Regions from separate parts of the Homo sapiens genome. Here all the other regions are linked to region 7. The links are contacts of gene promoters, found by promoter capture Hi-C in blood cells and fetal thymus (Javierre and others, 2016). All regions are on one chromosome and are shown on one strand. The core of a region is centred on a gene start or on the middle of the fragment in contact, and the rest is flanking DNA. Distances in the headings are between cores, read along the strand shown. Region 1 overlaps ICA1 (islet cell autoantigen 1). Region 2 overlaps ICA1 (islet cell autoantigen 1). Region 3 overlaps ICA1-AS1 (ICA1 antisense RNA 1). Region 4 overlaps ICA1-AS1 (ICA1 antisense RNA 1). Region 5 overlaps ICA1 (islet cell autoantigen 1). Region 6 overlaps ICA1 (islet cell autoantigen 1). Region 7 holds the start of UMAD1 (UBAP1-MVB12-associated (UMA) domain containing 1).

What was found. The method cuts DNA at HindIII sites, captures the fragments that hold promoters and counts their contacts. A CHiCAGO score of 5 or more calls a contact.
Region 1: a contact is called between a fragment that was not itself captured here and the fragment with the promoter of UMAD1 in region 7, in 14 of 17 cell types (total B cells, naive CD8 T cells, naive B cells and 11 more). The highest score is 10.1, in total B cells.
Region 2: a fragment that was not itself captured here is called in contact with the fragment with the promoter of UMAD1 in region 7 in 10 of 17 cell types (fetal thymus, erythroblasts, non-activated CD4 T cells and 7 more); the score reaches 13.8 in fetal thymus.
Region 3: a fragment that was not itself captured here is called in contact with the fragment with the promoter of UMAD1 in region 7 in 1 of 17 cell types (erythroblasts); the score reaches 6.1 in erythroblasts.
Region 4: a fragment that was not itself captured here is called in contact with the fragment with the promoter of UMAD1 in region 7 in 3 of 17 cell types (fetal thymus, erythroblasts and megakaryocytes); the score reaches 11.8 in fetal thymus.
Region 5: a contact is called between a fragment that was not itself captured here and the fragment with the promoter of UMAD1 in region 7, in 2 of 17 cell types (M0 macrophages and erythroblasts). The highest score is 9.5, in M0 macrophages.
Region 6: a fragment that was not itself captured here is called in contact with the fragment with the promoter of UMAD1 in region 7 in 10 of 17 cell types (M2 macrophages, M0 macrophages, fetal thymus and 7 more); the score reaches 8.8 in M2 macrophages.

What each region holds. Positions count from the first base shown.
Region 1 is chr7:8,185,186-8,188,190 of GRCh38, forward strand. All of the region lies in intron 6 of ICA1 (islet cell autoantigen 1), which reads right to left. Among named protein-coding and RNA genes, the nearest start is that of ICA1, 75 kb to the right of the region's middle. The HindIII fragment of the contact is 1,615 bases long and covers 935-2,549 here.
Region 2 is chr7:8,220,804-8,224,098 of GRCh38, forward strand. ICA1 (islet cell autoantigen 1) reads right to left here. Exons shown (of 14, transcript NM_001136020.3): 5 at 472-595. Among named protein-coding and RNA genes, the nearest start is that of ICA1, 40 kb to the right of the region's middle. RefSeq lists an enhancer at 689-1,245. The HindIII fragment of the contact is 840 bases long and covers 1,247-2,086 here.
Region 3 is chr7:8,273,732-8,276,684 of GRCh38, forward strand. All of the region lies in intron 3 of ICA1-AS1 (ICA1 antisense RNA 1), which reads left to right. Among named protein-coding and RNA genes, the nearest start is that of ICA1-AS1, 13 kb to the left of the region's middle. The HindIII fragment of the contact is 797 bases long and covers 999-1,795 here.
Region 4 is chr7:8,296,982-8,300,185 of GRCh38, forward strand. All of the region lies in intron 3 of ICA1-AS1 (ICA1 antisense RNA 1), which reads left to right. Among named protein-coding and RNA genes, the nearest start is that of ICA1-AS1, 36 kb to the left of the region's middle. The HindIII fragment of the contact is 4,184 bases long and covers 1-3,204 here.
Region 5 is chr7:8,250,355-8,253,664 of GRCh38, forward strand. All of the region lies in intron 1 of ICA1 (islet cell autoantigen 1), which reads right to left. Among named protein-coding and RNA genes, the nearest start is that of ICA1, 10 kb to the right of the region's middle. The HindIII fragment of the contact is 704 bases long and covers 1,173-1,876 here.
Region 6 is chr7:8,202,061-8,205,031 of GRCh38, forward strand. All of the region lies in intron 6 of ICA1 (islet cell autoantigen 1), which reads right to left. Among named protein-coding and RNA genes, the nearest start is that of ICA1, 59 kb to the right of the region's middle. The HindIII fragment of the contact is 3,510 bases long and covers 1-2,971 here.
Region 7 is chr7:7,639,353-7,642,279 of GRCh38, forward strand. UMAD1 (UBAP1-MVB12-associated (UMA) domain containing 1) reads left to right here and starts at 1,400. Exons shown (of 4, transcript NM_001302348.2): 1 at 1,400-1,469. It overlaps RPA3 (replication protein A3), which reads right to left. Exons shown (of 8, transcript NM_002947.5): 5 at 968-1,823. The coding sequence starts at 1,066. RefSeq lists enhancers at 581-630, 1,001-1,050, 1,321-1,520, 1,561-1,610, 1,691-1,860 and a silencer at 1,091-1,220. The HindIII fragment of the contact is 10,351 bases long and covers 1-1,995 here.

The DNA of each region.
Region 1 (3,005 bases), core at 492-2,991, 550 kb after region 7:
TGAAACAGTAAAGATGGCTGTGAAAAATAAAAGTAAATTTTAATCCTGACCTTGTAAGAATTATAAGTGAACACATCAATGTACCTAATGTACAAAATTAGAGCAGACTTATGAAACTTTAAACCAAGTGATAAATTTAAATATATTCATCCAACCATCCATTCACCCATCCATGCATCTGGCCATCCACATCCATCCATCCATCCATCCACCCACCCACCAATCCATTTATTCATCAACGAATGATTATGCTTACTTACGCTCAGTGTACTGTCTGGACCAGCAACATCAGCATCACCTGGGAGCTTGATAGAAATGTAATTCTTGGGCCCTAACTTGGGCCTACGGAATCAGAAACTGGGATGGGGCACATCAATACATTTTACCAAGCCCTCCAGAAGACCCTGCTGCATACTTAATCTTAAGAACCATCTGCCTGGAGTGAAAAGGTTAAGAGCATGCTCTTTGAAGTCAGAGAAATTTGGGCTCGAATGTTTCTATTTAGGCTTACTGCTTCTGTGATCTAGAACAAGGTCATTTGATCCAAGCCTTAATTTCCAAATTAGTAAACAGAGACACAGTATTTCAAAGCTATTGTTAGGATTAAATGAGATAATATATACAGATGGTATCTAAAGTGTATATTGATTATACATACAGTGCTTGGTGCATAGTAAGCACTCAAGAACTGATGTCTGTTATTTTTCCAGGCATGTAGGAGCCTGGGTTAGATGCTACAGGAAACACTTTGTTAATCAGACACAGTTTCTTTCTTCAAGGGTCGTATTCTGAAAGAGGAGCTATACAGCATATAAATAATCATGATACACATTAGGAAGTGTTAGGTGGCAAAAGAGTGGTTGTATAAAGAACCCTGGGAGAGTTTTGAAAGAGTGGAGGAAGTAACATTTGAATGGGCCTTTGAAAAAGGGGAAGCTTGTGGATAGGCACAGATCAAGCGACAGCAATTCAGATGAAAGGAACAGGGGGAGGAGACAGGGAATCCTGGGATACATGGTTTGGCTAATGGGATAACAGCAGGGTGGCCATACAATTTATTGTCCAAACAGGGACGCTCTCTGAGTGAAGAGGGCATCATTAATAGTGAAGCCTGGACAACAAACATAAATGTGGACCATGCCAGACACAGCAATCATCTGGTCACTGTGGAGAATAGGCTGTTGGGAATACAGTATTGGACCTAGGGAAGGAGAGTGGGCTGGGTTTGTGTGGTTCTGAACGACAGGCTGAGGGCTTTGCTTGTTAAGCAATGGGGAGCTGCTGAAGGTCCTGAGCAGGGAAGTGGCCACAGTAGAGTGGTTTTTCAGGAAGATGAGGTTGGCAGCTCTGTGTAGGCTGCTATACAAATGGAGACAGGGGATGGATGACAGAGAGATTTCCAGGGAAGAAATGATGAGATTTTGAAACCAAATAAATGGGTCAGAAAAGAAGAAAGTGAAGCTGAATCTAAAGTTAAGATTTCAAGCTGAGGTCAACAAAAACAAGGAGGGCAGGAAAAGGGGCAGATCAGGGTAAGATATCACAAGTGTACTTTCATGCATAATGTACTCAATTTGATGGGTTCCATTACATATAAGTGACAGGGCCTCAACGTGCCACTGAGAAGGGGAAATATGAAAACTAGTTAGAGTTGTATTCTTATTCCAGTAATGTTGTCTCCATTTCTCAAAAGATAAGCTATTCAATATCTCAGTATAGCACACAGGCTATTATCTTGTTTTGCATTTATTTTATATATCAAACACTTAAAATTGGGCAACAAGAATGTTTATGTTGTGCTTAATATGGACCACACTCAGTTCTAAGAACTTGACAAATATTACAGATTTAATCCTCATTAGAATCTTATGAGCTTGACGTGATTACACTTATGTGTCACTTAACGATGGGGACATGTTCTCAGAAACATGTTGTTAGGTGATTTTGTCCTTGTTCACACATCATACAGTGTACTTAAATAAACCTAGACGATATAGCACCTATTACACACCTATACTTTTTTACAAAGTATATATTATATTACAAAGCATTATATTACACATGAGATGGCCTATTTCTCTTAGGCTGCAAACCTGTACAACATGTTATTGTACTGAATACTGTAGGCAATTGTAACACAATGATAAGTGTTTGTGTATCTGAACATATCTAAACATAGAAAAGGCACAGTAAAAATATGGCATAAAAGATAAAAATGATAAACCTGTGTAGGGCACTTCCCACAAATGGAGCTTGCAGGCCTGGAAGTTGTTCTGGGTGAGTGAGAGTGGTGAGTGAATGTGAAGGCCCAGGACATTACTGTACACTACTTTAGACTGCATAAGCACTACACTTAGACTACACTAAATTTATAACAAATGTTTTTCTTTCTTTGATAATAAATTAACCTTAGCTTACTGTAACTTTTTTACTTTATAAACATCTTTAAACATTTTTAAATTTTTTGACTCTTCTGTAATAATTCTTGTCATAAAGCACAAACACATTGTACAACTGTACAAAAGATTTCTTTATATCCTTATTCTATAAGCTTTTTTCTATCTTTAACTTTTTTCACTTTTTAAACTTCTTTGTTAAAAACTAAGACACACATTAGCCCAGATTTGCACAGATTTAGTATCATCAAGATGTCACTAGGCAATAGGAATTGTCAGCCCCATTGTTATCTTATGGGACCACCATCATAAAATGTCATTATATGGTACTTGACTGTGTCTCCATTTTTCAGATGAAGACACTGAAATATTCAGAAGTTAAGAAACCTGCCTGAGATTATACTGCTACGAAGTGGGGAAGCCACAGTTTGAACCCAGGAGATGCTCACTGCAGAGACTGAGTTCCTCACCAAGGCACCAGGCTGTTTCTTACGCTAAAGGCATCCTAAGGGAACATAATGGAATGGGGATTGGAAAAACTCTTAGATAATGTTTTCTTGGGGTGTTTTGTTATTTATATGAAAAGAAAAGATTTTCCAGTTATAATTA
Region 2 (3,295 bases), core at 417-2,916, 580 kb after region 7:
CCCGGGTTATGGTCCAGGGTCTGAGCAGTGTGGACCTGGGCATGAGAACAGCACCTCTCTGAAGTTAATTGGTCCACAGAGAGCAGAGAGGGAACCCTTCAACCTGGTCTCATTAGGCTCCTGCTTTAATCAGCTGCTGGAAGGGGACCAGACTGATTGCTACAAGCAACACTGAAGGTCAAACATAAGCCTAGGACAGCACTCATAGTGATTGACATATATAATGCCCCTACAGACCAACAGAAAAATGAAAAAAAATTTTTTTTAATTAATAGGGAGGAAAAAAAAATCCTATGTGTTAATCTTAATTAGAGAGTTAAGTACAAACTGCCTAACTAGTGAGTACAGAGCAGCTCCTCAGCCTCAGGCAAAATCCTTCTAAAGAACACTGTGAGATTCCCTTTCGTGAGTAGGTGGGTCCCGGAGTCTCCTCAGATCCCCCCAGATAGAACCCCACTAAAGGCCACACACCTTTGCTGGGAAGAAAAGCAGAGGGCCTTTCCTGTCGCTTGCATCATCTTTCCTGCTCTGGTTTTATCTTGGAAACCTTGGGATCGAAGAAATTTTCCCAGTTCGTTTTCTTCTTGAGACAAGACTGATGAAGAAAAGACCAAAAGGAGCCATGAACAATGAGCATTTTGATTGCAAAGGGAACAAGAAAGACAAATCACAAGGTCCTCTCTCTTCCAGAGGCGAAGACGAGATGAAATTAAATCTAAGCGGCAGGCTACAGGGTAAGCTCCCCCTACCCCCCATTTAACTTTCAGGCTGTTCTTCCATTTACAATACGAGAGATCAAATTCACTTGAATACATCTGTCAGTGAGTTTGGTGCCCTGTAATCAGAACTAGAAAATGACCTCTGTACTGAAACGTAAGCCCATAGTGTGCGGCTTCGAGCTGAAATAAAGGAGTTGGGTTTGTCAAGTATGACTGTGGGAATCTTTTGTGGCTGCCTAGGATGCAGTGCTAGCTGCCTCTCATTATTCTCTCCTGCTGACTTTTGATCTCTGCTTTTTGAGTTACATTCTATTCCATTGTAAAGCAATTCAAATACCTCAGCTGTGACACAGGTTTTTGGTTGGAAGTGGGGGTAGGGACGGAGGGTGGGGAGGTCATCAGGTTGATGACAGTGGGTTTTAAAAATACAGAGCTGGAACCAAATCTGAATTGGTGATGCCTAATCTTGGCCTTATTTTTAAAGACAACCTCAGATGGTATTATTGGTGGGTAAGTGATTTGGTGCAAGCTTTCTGCAGACTGATTTGACGGTAAACATTTAAAAAATCATAGAATTACATGTATCTTTGGACTCTCCATGTCTACTGTTAGGAGAACTTCCTAAGGAAGTAGCAAAATGGGCACAAAGATGTAAATGCAAAAACAATCATAGCATCATTATTTATAATAGTGAAACACTCTCCTTATACTAGGAACTAGTTTAATAAAATACAGCATACCCACATAATGGTACAGTGGGGGTCCTGAACACACACCAGCAGCCAAGCCACAGGCACCAGAGTGACACTTAGCTTCCTCGGATGTGCTTTCCCCCTAAACACAGCATTTACTATCAACATACTTTGAACACTACTTTTATTTCCTATTTCTGTATTGATGTATTTACATACCCTGTGTCTCTAAAACTGCTTTCTAAATGCTACTAGGATTCTTGTCAGCTTTCACAAACCAGTCACTTTTCTTTAAGAATGCACCCCCATTCCTGACATAATCTCACTAACAATAATTGTAGGACATTAGGCAGGAACCACAAATCCAAAGGTGAAGGCTAAACTCGATACTGCTACCTTATTAATTTGTGACTATAGTTTCACCCTAAACATTCCCTTGGGAAGGCCCAGTCAAGAAGAGGCTTTTAGAATCCATTTTTCCTGAGAGATAAATGATGACCCTGCTTCTCTTCTGTCTCTCAAAAATCAAGTTCACCATCAAAGGCCTGCTCGCAGGTTCCTTTCTCTGTGAAGCAATTGATCCCTATTTCTCCGGACAGCAGTGCTCTCTGGGCACCTGACTTAGCACTCACCTTGTGTGACTGGGCATGTGTCTCTCTTCCCCAGGGGGCTCTAAGCTTTCCAAGACAGGGATCTCACCCAAACTTTGTATTCCCCAGGCTGAGCATAAAGTCTTAAATTCACGGTGCTAATTAAATGCTTGTGAATTGAATTGACTACAATTTTGCCTTGTTATCCTCATACACTTTATTTCAGTTGAAATACTTATTGCCTTTTAATACTCACGCCATGGTTCTATGTAGCTTTTTAAAATTCCTATAATTATAAGAAGGTTTTTTGTTTTTTAATACATTCCATTCCTTCTCCTCCCCACTGATTAATATGTGCCTCACTCAATTCCACAATGAATCTTTCCCTATGGAAAGCAATGTCTCATTTTTGATCTTAATCGTGTGAGGCTACTGTCACCCTTTTTACCTTGAAGTCTCAAGTCACATACAAATGAATGCATTTAGCTTAAGGCTAGGAAGAAACCAATTTGTGGTACCTGAATAATTACATGGTTGACAAAATGTACTCTTTCCTAAATAAACCTAAGTAGGCTGAAACATTTAAAAATAATTTTCGGTCATTTTAGGCACTTGTGGATCAACTTGGGGCAGCAAACAGGTTTCATTTTAGGTGCTGACTCTGATTACTTGGCAATACTTACTCAGAGGGCAGTGGAAAGAAGTGTGAGCTCCATCAGGGTCAAGGTTAGATTTTCTGAGAAGGGATGGTCATTCTTTAATTTTAAAAATTCAAATACTGAAATTAACTTACAGAAGTTTAAAATTCAGGTATAACATAGGTATCAGGTAACGCAAAAGGGCTGAGTGTGGTGGTTCACACCTGCAGTCCCAGCACTTTTGGGAGGTAGAGGCAGGAGGATTGCTTGATACTAGGAGTTCAAGACCAGCCTGTGCAACATAGCAAGACCCCTGTCTCTATTACAAGAAGAAAGCAAAAACAAAAAAAGATAACTCAAAATGTTCTATTAATAAGGTTTCAATTATCTGGGACTTGAGAATTCAGAGACAAAAACATTTTTATATTTACTTGCTAATTAGGTTTTCAGATGTGCCGTTAAAAACAAGGCAACTATGGAACTATGAAATTAATTAGCTGGACAGCATTAACTCACTCAGCACAGATTTATGGATGATCCAACACATACGAGGCACAGTTCTTGCCACTGGAATACAGTGATGAAGAGGATAAAGGAGTTCCCCACACTTACAGAGCTTATATTCAAGCAGCAGGAGATAGAAAATAAAACATAAT
Region 3 (2,953 bases), core at 147-2,646, 630 kb after region 7:
AAATGAGGGAAACTCCATCTCAAAAAAATAATAATAATAATAATAGTAATCGTCCATCTAAAGGAAGGATTAGTTAACAAAATTATGGTACATTTACATGTTGGAACATTGACAGCTGTTGAAAGGATGAGGTCAAGATTTTTTTTTCAAGTGAAAATAGCAGCTTGTATAACACAGTGTGAAATATGATTTTGTTTATGCAAATATTTTCTATGTAACATTAAAATCTTGTAATGATATTCACTAAAATGTTAACTGAAGCTATCTCTGCAGAGTGATCTTTTTTTGGCTGACATTGGAGGTGGGGGAAAGTTGTATTTTCACTTATACTCTTTGGTAGTGTTTGAATTTTTAAAGTGCACATATAGTATTTTGTAATTGACAAAAATAAAGATTTAAATTTTGACACCAGAACAAAATAAAAGAGATCCTCACATTTGAAAATGTTGGGAAATACTAGTTTAGATGACGTCTGAAATTCCTTACTGTGTAATATTCAATTCTTCTAATGACCTTCTAATAACCTTTGAGATTAGTCTAGTGCTAAAAGTCTTCTAGTGCTGAAAGTCCATGACTTCCTCCCCTCTTGCTGCCGCTGCCATGACAAATATGACTTGCTTAGGTAAATCTTGGACACTCCCTGATGGAGAGACCCTTACACTGGCTTATTCTTATATTTCTCATATTTCAAGTGACTTTATTCCTTGGTGACATCCTTGAGCTGATATAGGAGACCTGCAGCAAGACACTGGAATTTGAAAAGGCTAGAAGTGGCTCTAGGAGTCTCATCACCTCTTTGGCGGCCTAAGGTTGTACAGATGTGGATGGGAAGGGAGGAGCATGAACTGATTTTTTTATATCTGTATAACTAGGGTTTTCTATTTTATTCCCAGAGTAGTAGGATGGCTTATCATTCATTCAGTAAGCATTTATTATCTCAAACTTGATGTGACCGAAAAGTATTTTTTCTCTCAGAGCTCTTTCTTCTTATCTCGGCAAGCTTAAAAACCTCAATGTTATTTTGAATTCCTTCCTAGTAGTTTACCTTATGTGCTCAATTGGTTGCTAAATTCTGGTTCATTACAAGTCTATGATTCACTACAGGAAATTGCAGTTTCCTTTATAGTGTCTCTCAGCTGTCATATCCATTTTTCTCATTCTTATTTCCATTGCCTTTCTAACCCTGCTTCTTACCTGGAATTTAAAAACATCTTCCACCTAGGATTGTGTATTTTAACCAATACAAAATCAGCTTAGGTAATCACAAAATACATAATTTGCATACTTTTTGTGACTACTTTATGCTAAGAATCGAATGTGTGTGTGGGTTGTGGTGGGATGGGAGATGATATGTCAAGTAATAGAAGACAACTCAGGTCTTTGAGTTACTCTTTAAGTATGAAGCTAATTACATAATATTTTGATTGGCTTCAGTCCCAACTATAAAATTTTCAACGGGTTACCTCAAAATCCAATACCTAATCTAAACATTCGAAGCCTTTATCAGTCCTAATTTTCTTTATTCACCTCTCACCTTCTAATACTAATTTATGCATGTCCTCTCCTGGTCACCACCCCCCACATTCAGCCTCCTCCTTTTCCTGGACATATATTTACCAAGAACAATCACTGTCTCCTATTGCCAACGCCAAACTTGTAGTGTGTCCTTCAACTCCAGGTTGGAGTCCCCAAGAAACCCCTGGCCCTCCCTTTTCCACTTCCACCATTACTACTGCAACTTTATCTGTATGTCCCAAACAGTTACTAGAGCTCTGAATAAATGCTTGCTGAAGCAAGCTTAAATGAAATCTTTCTCACTTAGAAAAACAAGAGCCATTGGACCTATAACCATGACCCAGCTCAAACATTATGCATTCTCCCACAAGAGATATACTTAGGCAATTAGGTCTTTGAAGGCAAAGACTCTGCCCAGCTTGTGTGTTCCCTTACACATCCACCATAGTGCCTTGAATGTACAATGTTAGGTGTTTAATCAAAGTGTGTTGAATTAATGGATGAGTGAATAGTTTGTATACAACTAGACCCTCTGAGGGTGGGGTGTTAATTCTCTTGGCTGTGTTTTGATAAAGTCTCTCCATTAATTCTTAGCCATTTTTCAAACCAAACTTTGATACTCAATACTACTATTTTATAATACTACATGGTCTGATATTCTCTATTATAGATTTTCCAAATTTACTTTATCCCCCAAATCAGGTAAACACTTGTGAAATATGTACACTCACCAGGCTCCTTCGAAATCAGATTTTTTTTTTGTACAATTTATGGGGTACATGTGCCATTTTGTTACATTCATGGATTGTGTAGTAGTCAAGTCAGGGTTTTTAGGGTACCCATGACCAGAATAACGTGCCCATTAATTAATTTCTCATCATCTGCCCCCTTTCCACCCTCTCACCCTTCCCAGTGTTCATTGCCTATCATTCCACTATGTCTATGTGTACACAATTTTAGCACCCATTTATGGCTGGGAACATGCAATTCCAAATAGAAAACTTTGGTAGAGGGACCTGAGATTCTACATTTTTGACAACTAACTCAGCTGATTCTTATGGCCAGAAGAATCTGAAAACCCTTCTCTATCGTAAAATTCAATGGGTATTAGTTGAGGATAATTATTATATTTGAGCTTTATGTCAAATATAATTCTATGAGTATTAATTTGATGTCAAAACACCTGAACTCCAGTTTCATTCACTACCATCTAGGTGATTGGAGGCTAGTCTAGTTTTTCCCCAACTCTCCGCACATTAGAATCAAAGGGTATCTTTTAAAAATCCCAAAACTTAGGCCACACCCAGACCAACTAAATCTCAATCTTTAGGGCTGCCACACAGACATGAGTACTCTTTGAAGCTCCCCAGGTGGTTCCAACATGCAGACAAGTTTGGAACAGCTGGGATAATCATCTACCCTCTCTAAGCCAGTTTTT
Region 4 (3,204 bases), core at 160-2,659, 660 kb after region 7:
TTCCCTCTCACATTTAAATTCTCAATTTGTGATGTGTAGAATCTTAATATTTCCTTTAGTGCAGAGTGACCGGCACCTCCAGTTTAATCCTTCTCCAAAATGGTTAACTCAGAATTCTCACCATTCCCAGTCTCGGTCTCCACCATGGTGCTTTAATTCTCTTTTTTTCAATACTATTTAAAAGTATCATCATTGGCCGGGTGTGGTGGCTCACGCCTGCAATCCCAGCACTTTGGGAGGCCGAGGCAGGCAGCCACCTGAGGTCAGGAGTTTGAGACCAGCCTGGCCAACATGGTGAAACCCCATCTCTGTTAAAAGTAAATAAATAAATAAATAAAAATACAAAAATTAGCCGGGCGTGGTGGCACACACCTGTAATCTCAGCTACTTAGCAGGCTGAGCCAAGAGAATTGCTTGAACCTGGGAGGCAGAGGTTGCAATGAGTAGAGATTGTGCCACTCACTCCAGACTGGGCGAAAGAGTGAGACTCCGTCTCAAAAAAAAAAAAAAATTATCATCATTATTATCTTGTCTGTTCCTGGTTCTTTCCTTACTATGTAAGAGAAGCAACCCAAGTCGCAGTGCATTTAAATGCTTTTCCTAAGGCTCTAGTAAGGGCAGTTAGAAATGGAAGCCGGAACTTTAGATGGTCTGGAGCGTGGTCTGGAGTCTTTACAACACACCCAAACTATCCGCACACATGGAAGGGTGAGAACCTCCCTATCCAATTCCTTTGCATCAGCTCCTCCTTCCTTTATTGTCTATGGCTTCTGGGACGATTGTGAATAAGAGAGTGATCCAACAACAGAATGTGGAGACAACCTCTCTCCCCTCTGTAGCTGTGTCCACTTTGGCTTTTGATACAGGGAGTAGAGTCACAGACAGGCATGTATTCACTTTAGTTTCCCTAGGAACGCAGACAGGTGGTTCAGACAGAAATCAGAATTATTTATACATGACTGTAGGAAAATATTTATTCAGGGAACTCTGACCATTTTATGCTTGAATCATTTATATTCTCTACTATTTAGAGCTGCAGTTGGCCTTGCTATCATTTATTTATTTGTACATTGAGTCAGTGAAGATAAATTTTCTTAATTTTTTTTTCCTTTTTTTTTATTTTATTTATTTATTTATTTTTATTATTATACTTTAAGTTTTAGGGTACATGTGCACATTGTGCAGGTTAGTTACATATGTATACATGTGCCATGCTGGTGCGCTGCACCCACTAACTCGTCATCTAGCATTAGGTATATCTCCCAATGCTATCCCTCCCCCCTCCCCCAACCCCACAACAGTCCCCAGAGTGTGATGTTCCCCTTCCTGTGTCCATGTGATCTCATTGTTCAATTCCCACCTATGAGTGAGAATATGCGGTGTTTGGTTTTTTGTTCTTGCGATAGTTTACTGAGAATGATGGTTTCCAATTTCATCCATGTCCCTACAAAGGACATGAACTCATCATTTTTTATGGCTGCATAGTATTCCATGGTATATATGTGCCACATTTTCTTAATCCAGTCTATCATTGTTGGACATTTGGGTTGGTTCCAAGTCTTTGCTATTGTGAATAATGCCGCAGTAAACATACATGTGCATGTGTCTTTATAGCAGCATGATTTATAGTCCTTTGGGTATATACCCAGTAATGGGATGGCTGGGTCAAAAGGTATTTCTAGTTCTAGATCCATGAGGAATCGCCACACTGACTTCCACAATGGTTGAACTAGTTTACAGTCCCACCAACAGTGTAAAAGTTGTTCATATTTCTCCACATCCTCTCCAGCACCTGTTGTTTCCTGACTTTTTAATGATTGCCATTCTAACTGGTATGAGATGGTATCTCATTGTGGTTTTGATTTGCATTTTTCTGATGGCCAGTGATGGTGAGCATTTTTTCATGTGTTTTTTGGCTGCATAAATGTCTTCTTTTGAGAAGTGTCTGTTCATGTCCTTTGCCCACTTTTTGATGGGGTTGTTTGTTTTTTTCTTGTAAATTTGGGTTCACTGTAGATTCTGGATATTAGCCCTTTGTCAGATGAGTAGGTTGCGAAAATTTTCTCCCATTTTGTAGGTTGCCTGTTCACTCTGATGGTAGTTTCTTTTGCTGTGCAGAAGCTCTTTAGTTTAATTAGATCCCATTTGTCAATTTTGGCTTTGGTTGCCATTGCTTTTGGTGTTTTAGACATGAAGTCCTTGCCCATGCCTATGTCCTGAATGGTAATGCCTAGGTTTTCTTCTAGGGTTTTTATGGTTTTAGGTCTAACATTTAAGTCTTTAATCCATCTTGAATTGATTTTTGTATAAGGTGTAAGGAAGGGATCCAGTTTCAGCTTTCTACATATGGCTAGCCAGTTTTCCCAGCACCATTTATTAAATAGGGAATCCTTTCCCCATTGCTTGTTTTTCTCAGGTTTGTCAAAGATCAGATAGTTGTAGATATGCGGCGTTACTTCTGAGGGCTCTGTTCTGTTCCATTGATCTATATCTCTGTTTTGGTACCAGTACCATGCTGTTTTGGTTACTGTAGCCTTGTAGTATAGTTTGAAGTCGGGTAGTGTGATGCCTCCAGCTTTGTTCTTTTGGCTTAGGATTGACTTGGTGATGCGGGCTCTTTTTTGGTTCCATATAAACTTTAAAGTAGTTTTTTCCAATTCTGTGAAGAAAGGCATAGGTAGCTTGATGGGGATGGCATTGAATCTGTAAATTACCTTGGGCAGTATGGCCATTTTCACGATATTGATTCTTCCTACCCATGAGCATGGAATGTTCTTCCATTTGTTTGTATCCTCTTTTATTTCCTTGAGCAGCGGTTTGTAGTTCTCCTTGAAGAGGTCCTTCACATCCCTTGTAAGTTGGATTCGTAGGTATTTTTTTCTCTTTGAAGCAATTGTGAATGGGAGTTCACTCATGATTTGGCTCTCTGTTTGTCTGTTGTTGGTGTGTAGGAATGCTTGTGATTTTTGCACATTGATTTTGTATCCTGAGACTTTGCTGAAGTTGCTTATCAGCTTAAGGAGATTTTGGGCTGAGACAGTGGGGTTTTCTAGATATACAATCATGTCATCTGCAAACAGGGACAATTTGACTTCCTCTTTTCCTAATTGAATACCCTTTATTTCCTTCTCCTGCCTAATTGCCCTGGCCAGAACTTCCAACACTATGTTGAATAGGAGTGGTGCGAGAGGGCATCCCTGTCTT
Region 5 (3,310 bases), core at 275-2,774, 610 kb after region 7:
TGATTCATCAAATCCTGTTCTCAAGTGGTTGAGAAATGGGCATTCCCATGGAGGATGGGAAGTTCAATTAGCCTTCCATCTTTTCAAAAGCTAGGTATTAATTAAAGTAACACGATTTTGATGAGTTTTTAATGGGTGTTTTTCCTACCTCTGAGATATCATACAGCTTGTCCTTTTGGATTTTTGACGTGGACACGATTACCTGAGCATTCCACACAACTGCACACAAGGCTACAGTGAGCTCTGATCCCCTCACTGCACTCCAGCCTGGGTGATTGAGTGACTACACAACTTTAAATGGATCCTGTTTCCAGTTTTGTGCCTTCTGCAATGATTTTTGATATTTCATAAATTCACAAGTAAATGTGAAATGGGATCATGTTTTAATTTTGTGAGTCAGCAAATATCACCAAGAGGAAAACAGAATTGTGATCTTATTCATGGTAGCTAAAAGGTGAGTTTTTATTTTAACACTACAGATGCAAGCCACTGTTAAAATCTGTGTTTTCTGTTAATGAACTAAAGTCTTAGGATATTTTCTTTTATTAAAGAAATTTTTTTTTTGAGACAGGATCTTGCTCAGTTGCCCAGGCTGGAGTGCAATTGTGACATTACAGCTCATGCAGCCTTGACCTCCTGGGCTCAAGTGATCCCCCCCACCTCAGCCTCTTCAGTAGCTGGGACTACAGGCACTTGCCAATAGGCCCAGCTAATTTTTTTATTTTTAGTAAAATGCCTCCCAATGCTAGTCTCAAACTCCTGAGCTCAAGTGATCCACCAGCTTTGGACTCCCCAAGTGCCAGGATTACAGGCATGAGCCACTGTGCCCAGCCAGATATTTTTAAATGATTGTTTTATTTACATTTCAAAAGAACTCAGGTGTTATATACAATGATTAAGTTATATACAATGATTAAGTTTAATGACTCCCTAAAACTATTAAAATCACATTCCTAAAGTATGTATTTTGAAGGTTTCCCAATATGCTCCTTGATATAAATAAAAGCTGGTAAATCCATGACTATGTCACACACTTAGTCATCACTTCAGCGATCTGGCTTCACTTTGCTCATCTGTAAAACAGTAGACTAGGCAAGTGGCCATCTAGGATGCCCCCAGTCACAAAAATAAAAAACTCAAATTATTTTCAGAGACATTTACATCTAAGATAAAGCTTAGAGATAATGAACACAACATCCTTTTCAATGATTAAAAAATTGGGGTTCTAAAAATAGAGATGACTTGTCCAAGATCAGGTTAAAGGTCAAGTTCACATAGAGGAATGCTGGGAATGAAACATTCATCAGCCAGTTAACAATTTGGTGCTCTCCTCTGTCTCTTCATCTATTCCAAGAGATGTTTCTGAAAGGAAAATATCAAATATAACAGAAACCAAAATAAAATTGCCAAGCTACTTTCTAAAATGTCATCTTCAGCATTAATATTATTGTAAAATTTTTAAATATTATATCCATGTAAAACAAATTAAAAACAAACCAGAAAACTCAAACTGCTCACAAAAAGTGTGGTCTAGGTCTTGCTCCTCTTTCTTTTGCTTAAAGCCCTCCTTTCAAAGGATGATCGATGGTGAATTTTGTGCTACACCAAAAATCATGGCAGTAATAACAAAGAGGTAGGTATTTGCAAACCACAAACCTAAAAGAAATCTAGAAAGATAAAAATATAAAGTGTAAAACAACACTAGAAACAGAACAAATGGGTTACCTCTGCTAAAGAAAAAAGTAATTTTAAAAGTTTGCAGTATAAATTATATTCACCTTTGATTTTATTTAGTTTGGTTTACATAAATTTCAAATATCAAATCAAATTTCACATACAGATTTTACTCTGTATTTATGGTGGTGTTTTCTCTAAAAGCTTAATTTCAAAAGCTGAAGAATGAAGGAACACCCTAATCAGATAAAAGTCTCGATCAAGTTCTGTGAAGGAATACTACGCCCTTCGATGTCAGCACAGAACATTATTAAATCATAGGTCTAAATGTTATCCTTATATTTTATTGGGATCAAATTATAAAACTTGGAAGGCTCTTACAAATCTTACTTTAAAGAATTGCACCAACTTAAATTTTCTTTTTATGGAAGAATAACCTCAGATAAATTGACTTTATCATCTAAGACTATGCAGTCCAATATAGCAGACACTAGCCACATGTAATATGAGCACTTGAGATACGGCTGGTATGAATTCAGATGAGCTCTAAATGTAAAATTCACACTGGATTTTGAAGACTTAGTAACAAAAAATTAAAATGTCTCATTAATAAATCCATGTATTTATAGTTATAAAAATTATTTCATGTTGATATATTGTATATATCTAAATTTTATATAACTACATTTATATATTACATATTTACATATGTATATTATATATTCTGCTTTATATTTAATTATATTTTTTGCTTATTTATTACTTTTTTATATTTTACGTTGAAACAATATTTTGAATATTTTGGGTTAGATCAAATAAATTATCAATTTAATTTAAGCTGTTTCTTTTTAGTTTTTGTTTGTTTTGAGACAGGGTCTTACTGTGTTGCCCAGGCTGGTCTTGAACTCCTAGGCTCAAACAATCCTCCCACCTCAGCCTCCTGAGTAGCTGGAATTATAAGCATGGCACACGCCACAGCCCCCACCTTATTTCTTTTTAGTTTTTAAGCCAAAAATATTTTACTACTAGAATGTTTTAAATTATATATGTGGCTGCTGTTATATTTTTGTTGGAGAGCCTCAGTCTAAGGCATCAAACAAATCAAAAAAGAGCTAGAAATTAATTCTATAACTTCGGTCACCAATATTCTGTACTAGTTACAAATACCCTTAAACAGTTATTTCTGCTCAGAATCTCTGACATTCTGTCAGAGATGTCATTACAAAAATAAAATCATATGTATCTTCTTTTGAAATAACCTACAAAATGATTGTACTCCATATTTTTACAAGTTTAAAAAGGTCCAAATCTGTGTGCACAATGTACTATTTGTGTCAAATTAGATTTATGTGAATAGTAAGTGAAGTGGTGGGCTACTATAAGACCATCAGAAGTAAAAATGTAAGGACAATGTGATGTAATATATACAATATGTATCCACAAATGTAAAATGTATACATATATTTAGAAATCACAAATATATATAGCTGACCCTTAAAGAAAATGGGTTTGGACTGCATAGGTCCACCTATACACCAGTTTTTTTCAACCAAAGGCAAATAGAAAATATATCTTCTATTTTTTTATAATCATATTTTTATATTTAAGTACATTTTTTGCTTATAATTAAATATAA
Region 6 (2,971 bases), core at 113-2,612, 560 kb after region 7:
AGGGCATCCAAAAAGAGATGATTTAAAACAGTACAGAGGAAGCCAAATTTTGATTGACTCAACATTTAAACTGAAACAACAGAGGCTTCTTAACCTTATTCAACTGACAAGTGTAGAAGACCCCATCATGCTGCTCATGAAGAAACTGCTTTAGTTCCAGAAAATAAGGGGATGCATGTGTCAATGTGGTCTGAGTCAAATTATAATCCCTTCCACCTGGCCCTGACATGTTCTGACTGTGTCACATTGAGACAGTTATGTAACCTCTCTAAGCGTCAAAATCCTCATCTGTGAAAAGGAGATCATAGTGTCTTCCTCTTGGGGAGTTTTAACGAGCCCATTCATGTAAATTGCTTAGAACTGTAGCTGATACATGATAAACTTTTTAAATGTGCTAATTTTGTTATCACTTCTACTTTACATTCAATGTCAAAGTTTCTTTTATTCTGTTCAAGAATGGCTAACTACATCTTTGTCAAAAAATGTCAAAGTACTGTATTTCTGACATTCTTCATTTATGATTTCAGAACCTCTAGTGCATTCCCACAAGCACAGAAATGCCATTCTGGGGATGAATGAGAATTACTGTTTTTATATCACCCTTGACTTTTTCTCAGCTTAGTAAACATCTTGGTACTCACCACAGAAATTACCTCCAAGCCAGGAAGATATTTCTTAAGAATAATGTTAGCTGTAACAAACTGCAGAGTAAAATGATGGAGGCATCTGTAGGACCTGGTGGTGAGCCTGCTCTGTCTTAGGCTGATTACTCCTAAGAGGAAGAACCAGCTATAGGCAATAGACACACCGCACGAATGGGGGAAAATGCAGAGGGGAGGATTCCTTTGTGAACCTGTGGGCAATTTTAACATGCATATCAGGACAGGACAGTGTCAGAGTGCTCCTGGCAAATTCCTTGTGATTAACATGGGTACATTAACTGTCAGAATTGTTTGCTGCTGAGTATTCAATAATAGATATTAACTAACCTGGGGCTCCATTCTAGCTCTTTCAGTTTTCTGTATCAACCTAGAGAACACCAAGGGGGCTTTAGCTGAAGCAGGAGAAGAGATTTCGTTAGAAAGGTTAGTACTGATTCTAGATAAACAAAATAAGTAATTTTTGAGTGTCTGTGATATACAAATTTCTAGGCTCTAAGCCTTAGGTAAACATGCATGTAAGTACTAAAAAGCACATTAAGCCTTAATATAGTAGAGTTCCTGGGAAATCCAGTGGTTTAAGTGACTTTTCCATGTAGGTAAAGCATATTCTATTAAAAAAAAAGTTAAGACATAAGAAATCTTCATATAAGTCAGATACCTCTTATTAAATGTCTATCTTCTAAAATAGAGCAAAATTGCCTTTTTTGATGGATCAGTCATCATCATGAACATCAGCTATTTCACGATGGTGCTCTGAGAAAGTATTTCTCAAGGTGTGATCTATGGATCCCAGAAAAGGAATTATCTGGGAGCCCATTAAAAGTCAGATCTCTGAGCCCCACCCCAGGCCTCCAGAATCAAAATCCTTAGGTAGAAGCCAGGATTCTCCACATCCAACTTGCTTCTCAGAGGATTCTTACACTCAACTCAGGCCAGAGAGGCCCTAATTCAGAGTGAGTTGAGATGTTCTTCACTGGAAATGTCTGCAGGGGGCCTGTTAATTTTCTGTGCCTATTTGCTGTAGGGCTTCTGCTACTTTCCTCTTATGACCGCAAACCTTTCAACAGTGACAGGCTTTAAACCTGTGGGGCAATTTGCAGAGGATCCTTTGCTGGATGCTGGCCTTTGTGATGTCTACTTTCCAACCATGAGCCTCAGCTTTGGGTCCCTGAGTTGAGCCTACTCTTGCAGGATTCAGGCGCCAGACAGACCCCAAGGAATTCAGGCTCTAGACCTGCCATTTCACCTCAAAAAACGACTCCCAGAATAAGGTAGAACAGAAATGTGAAACGCCAAACCCAGAAATGTGACTGGATGTTCAAGAGACAGAGAGATTGGTGAGAAGGAAAAAAAAAAGCCCAAATACTCCTTAAGGGTGCTTGGAACATGAAACACTGGGGTCAGAAAAACGAGTTCAGAGGACGTGGCATGTGCTGGAAGATGTGACTGCTACTTGAACAGGAAGCCAGGTCTCCTCTACCCCAGAAACCTTTTTTTCCAATAGTAACCTAATATCACACAAGGATCTGTTTATCGGATTGTAGTAATATGGGGCTGGAAAGCCGAGAAGAGCACTGACTCTAGAGTCAGAGGCTTGGGTTCAAATTCTAGTTCACACGTATGGCTATGGGCAAGTCAGTCATGGCTGCCCTGTGGTCTTATCTGTGAAATGGGAAAAAGAATTCATACCCTCGCTAAACTCTTGTGCAGTTTTAACGAAGTAATGAATATGAAACAGCTTTGTAAACTGTAGAGAACTTTACCAATATTTAATCAAAAATATTCTGCATTATGTACATATTTAAAGAGCTGCTACATCTATCTACAAGGCAGAATGTTAGGGAAAACTCTAGGCTGGGAAAAAATTCAAATATGTTAATTTTCTTACATAAATAAACCTATCACATTGTTCATTGTGGAGTTTAAATATCTGCTGTGCTTTTGTACTAAGAAAAAGATATTTTTAAACAAAAAATGAGCAGTCTTTTGACTTTTGCACAACTCATGTTTAACGTTCTTTTAAAGTACGTTTTTCTTATTTTCTGGATTAAATCGTAAGAAAGTTCATCAAATCTTCATTATATTTTCAAAATACTCTTTCCTATTGTCATCTCCTTAATGTCAACTTTACTTGCACCATTTATTAGCTGACATTGCAGAACAGTGGGGAAAATGGGGACATGCCAGGGAGAAAGGAGGGACAATTAAGTCCACAATGAATCTAATAGGTTTTGCCTAAAACCTAAAATACACTAAGGATAAGGAAGAGGGAGTCTAACTTACGAAATCTAACCATTGTCTGGTTTCAC
Region 7 (2,927 bases), core at 150-2,649:
CAAGGATTTTTTTTGTAGTGTTAAGTAGGTTCTGTATTTGCTAAATATGGCAACCCTATTCTGATAACAAATTAAAGGATGCCCACCCTAAAAGTGAAATCTGCTGGCACTCATGATTTAGACAGTACATATCCCACGGAGGGTATGTTTTAAAAAACAGGCATGATGAAGTAAAAGGAGAACTGGTTGCTAGAATATCTGGGTCCTACTCCTGGGAAGCAGCTGTAAAGAGCGCTGTCAGATTGCGTTTGAATGCCAGCTTTGCCATTTGCCGAGTTTCTGAGCATTTTAGTCAACCACCTACCACTCCTACTCAGTTTCCCTACTTGGGAAGTCAGAGCAACACTCATTTAAGGAAGAGGATGTGTGGATGAAATGAGCTACTAAATAAGTCTTTATATAATAGTTTTCTTTTCCTCAGCTTTTCAGGTCACTGATTCCAAGACTTTGGGCCTGTTTCTCGCCTGTAGAATGAGGGAACTTCACTTTAATACTGGGGTTAAATAACTCGTTACTACGGGACCCAAAGCGGACAACCAAGGCATGTTTTACAGAGAAGCGATCACAACGAGGAAACGAGGTTTGCAAAAATAAGTAATTTCAGAAGAGAAGGAAACCAGCAGATTAGTTTTGTCTGCGTCCGTCACGTCTGAGTAAACTAAGAAATCTGAAGGTAGATGTGGGAGTGGTGTTTATAATTTCCCTTACGTAAGCACGGCTAGAACGGAGGCGACGGGCACTGGAATTTAGAACTCAGCATTTGAAAACACTTTGTTTCCGTGCCATAAAAGAGCGCCAAAATGGGGCTACAACGGCTAAAGAATTTCCAAAAAGTTCCTTGTGCAAAATAAAGGAGTCGGGGGCGCAGTGATCGGAGGCTTTCCGTCCTTTTTCATCCCCCGTTATCCAGGCGGGGTCCCTCCCTCCAGCTACGGACTTGGGAGCCCATGATTGCGAACCCGCACACCTTTTCCAGCCTCCCTACGAAGCAGACAGGCTTGTCGATGAATTGAGCTAGCATGCCGGCGTTGATGCGCGACCTGGGCAAGTCCATCATGTCCACCATGATTATGGTCCAAGACTGCGGCTGGCGGGAAACCCACGGACGACTGAAACTGTGCGCCCCGCGGGTGTCTATGGGGCAGATTTCTCGGCACCAATCAGCGAAGACTAGCGCTCCAGCTTCGCCAATTAAATGCGCGGAAACCTAAATCGCAATCGCGCTGTCTCTGAAAGGGGTGGAGAAGGGGCTGGATGAGTCCGGAAGTGGAGATTGGCTGCTTAGTGACGCGCGGCGTCCCGGAAGTTGACAGATACAGGGCGAGAGGCAGTGGAGGCGGGACTTGGATAGGGGCGGAACCTGAGACTACCTTTCTGCGATCACAGGATTCCCGGCGGTGACTTGACCCCGGAAGTGGGGTGTGAAGCTCCGGTGCTGGTGCGGCGGGGGACTGCGGGGCCAGCCTCAGGTACCTCGTCTCGCGGGAGGCGCCGCAACCTTACTGTTTCCCCATTCTTCCCGCGAACAGAGTCAAAAGAGCTAGGCGGGAGTCGGCACTAGCTGCTGCCGCGGTGCTGTGGGTGCTGCGTACCAGCTGTTCACTGCTGTCTCGCCTTCCCTCTTGCCAGTTCTGCGTGGGAGGCGCGGGAGTTTTGCGGAATGATACGTGGTGTGGCGTCGGGGTTGTGATACCCGCCCCCTTGGAGATGGGCAGCGGGGTCATCAGTGATCTTGATCACTTTCTTCAGGCTTTTGCCACTTGTTGGCTGAGGGTCGATTTACTCCCTTAGCTGCGTCACTCTACTTTCTCCACTTTCTCCACCTGTAAGAAGAGAGATTGATCCGATTACTTCTAAGACGTTTTTTAGCCCAACCTGGCCACACTGCGGAGGCGCCGGTTCTTTCACCCCGCTAACCCCTCCGTGTTGGCAGCCAATAGAAGCACTTAAGGATGGGTAACGGGGAAGAACCACTGGCCAGTACTAGGGGAGACAAGCTTAAATCGTTGTTAGACCCCGAGCTAGGGTTCCCCGAGCTAGGGTTCTCCCTTCTGAGGCGTGTTTTCCCCATCTGCAAAACGAAGGGTTAGGCGGAATGATTTGCAAGGTCCCAGTTGACTCTGACTTTTGGCCATATGTTTGACTCAACAGTTTAAACCCCCTCAGCAGTCTTTCTGTCGTTGCCCTCCACACTGCGAGACTCTGGAGGGCGATCTGGAGGTCTGGAAGATAACCGATTCCTGGGAGATTTGGGGGTAGTCTCCAATCTGTCCCTGGCTCATCTTGTGACCCGAAGCCGGCGGCCTTGCCAGGAGTATTCTAGAATGAGTGCACATAAAAATACCTTCAAACGGTACGGTGGAAATTGGACAGAAGTTTTAATTGGGTATTATAACGTTGTGGAAACTGAGTCTGTGAATTGGCCCAAAGCTACAGAATTGTCATCGTTCAAATTCCCTTAAGCAAAAAAGATCCGATTTGAGACTTCACGTGGCAATTTAAGATTGGAATCTCATGTACGATAATTAAATGATAGTCTCCCTTAGTGTTTCCTTAGCACTTAATAGGTTTGTCTTAGTTTTACTCACTAACGGTACTTTAAAGGATTTCATTAAACAGATGTAGAATGTGTGTCAGTGGTGTATAAAAAAGTTGTGGTTGTATTGGTGCAAGTCAGTAAAGTCTATTTTATATTACAGCTTTAAGTCTTTTGTACTTTAGCATTGTTTTGCAAAGCAAGTTGATGTGCATTATATAGGGGAGAGTACACACATCAATGTCTTTAATAGCATTTTTTTTTGAGGCAAGATCTCTCTCTGTCACCCAGACTGGAGTGCAGTAGCATGCACATAGCTCACTGCAGCCTTTAACTCGTAGGCTTAAGCGATCCTCTCACCTCAGCCTGCCAAGTAGCTGGGACTATAAGC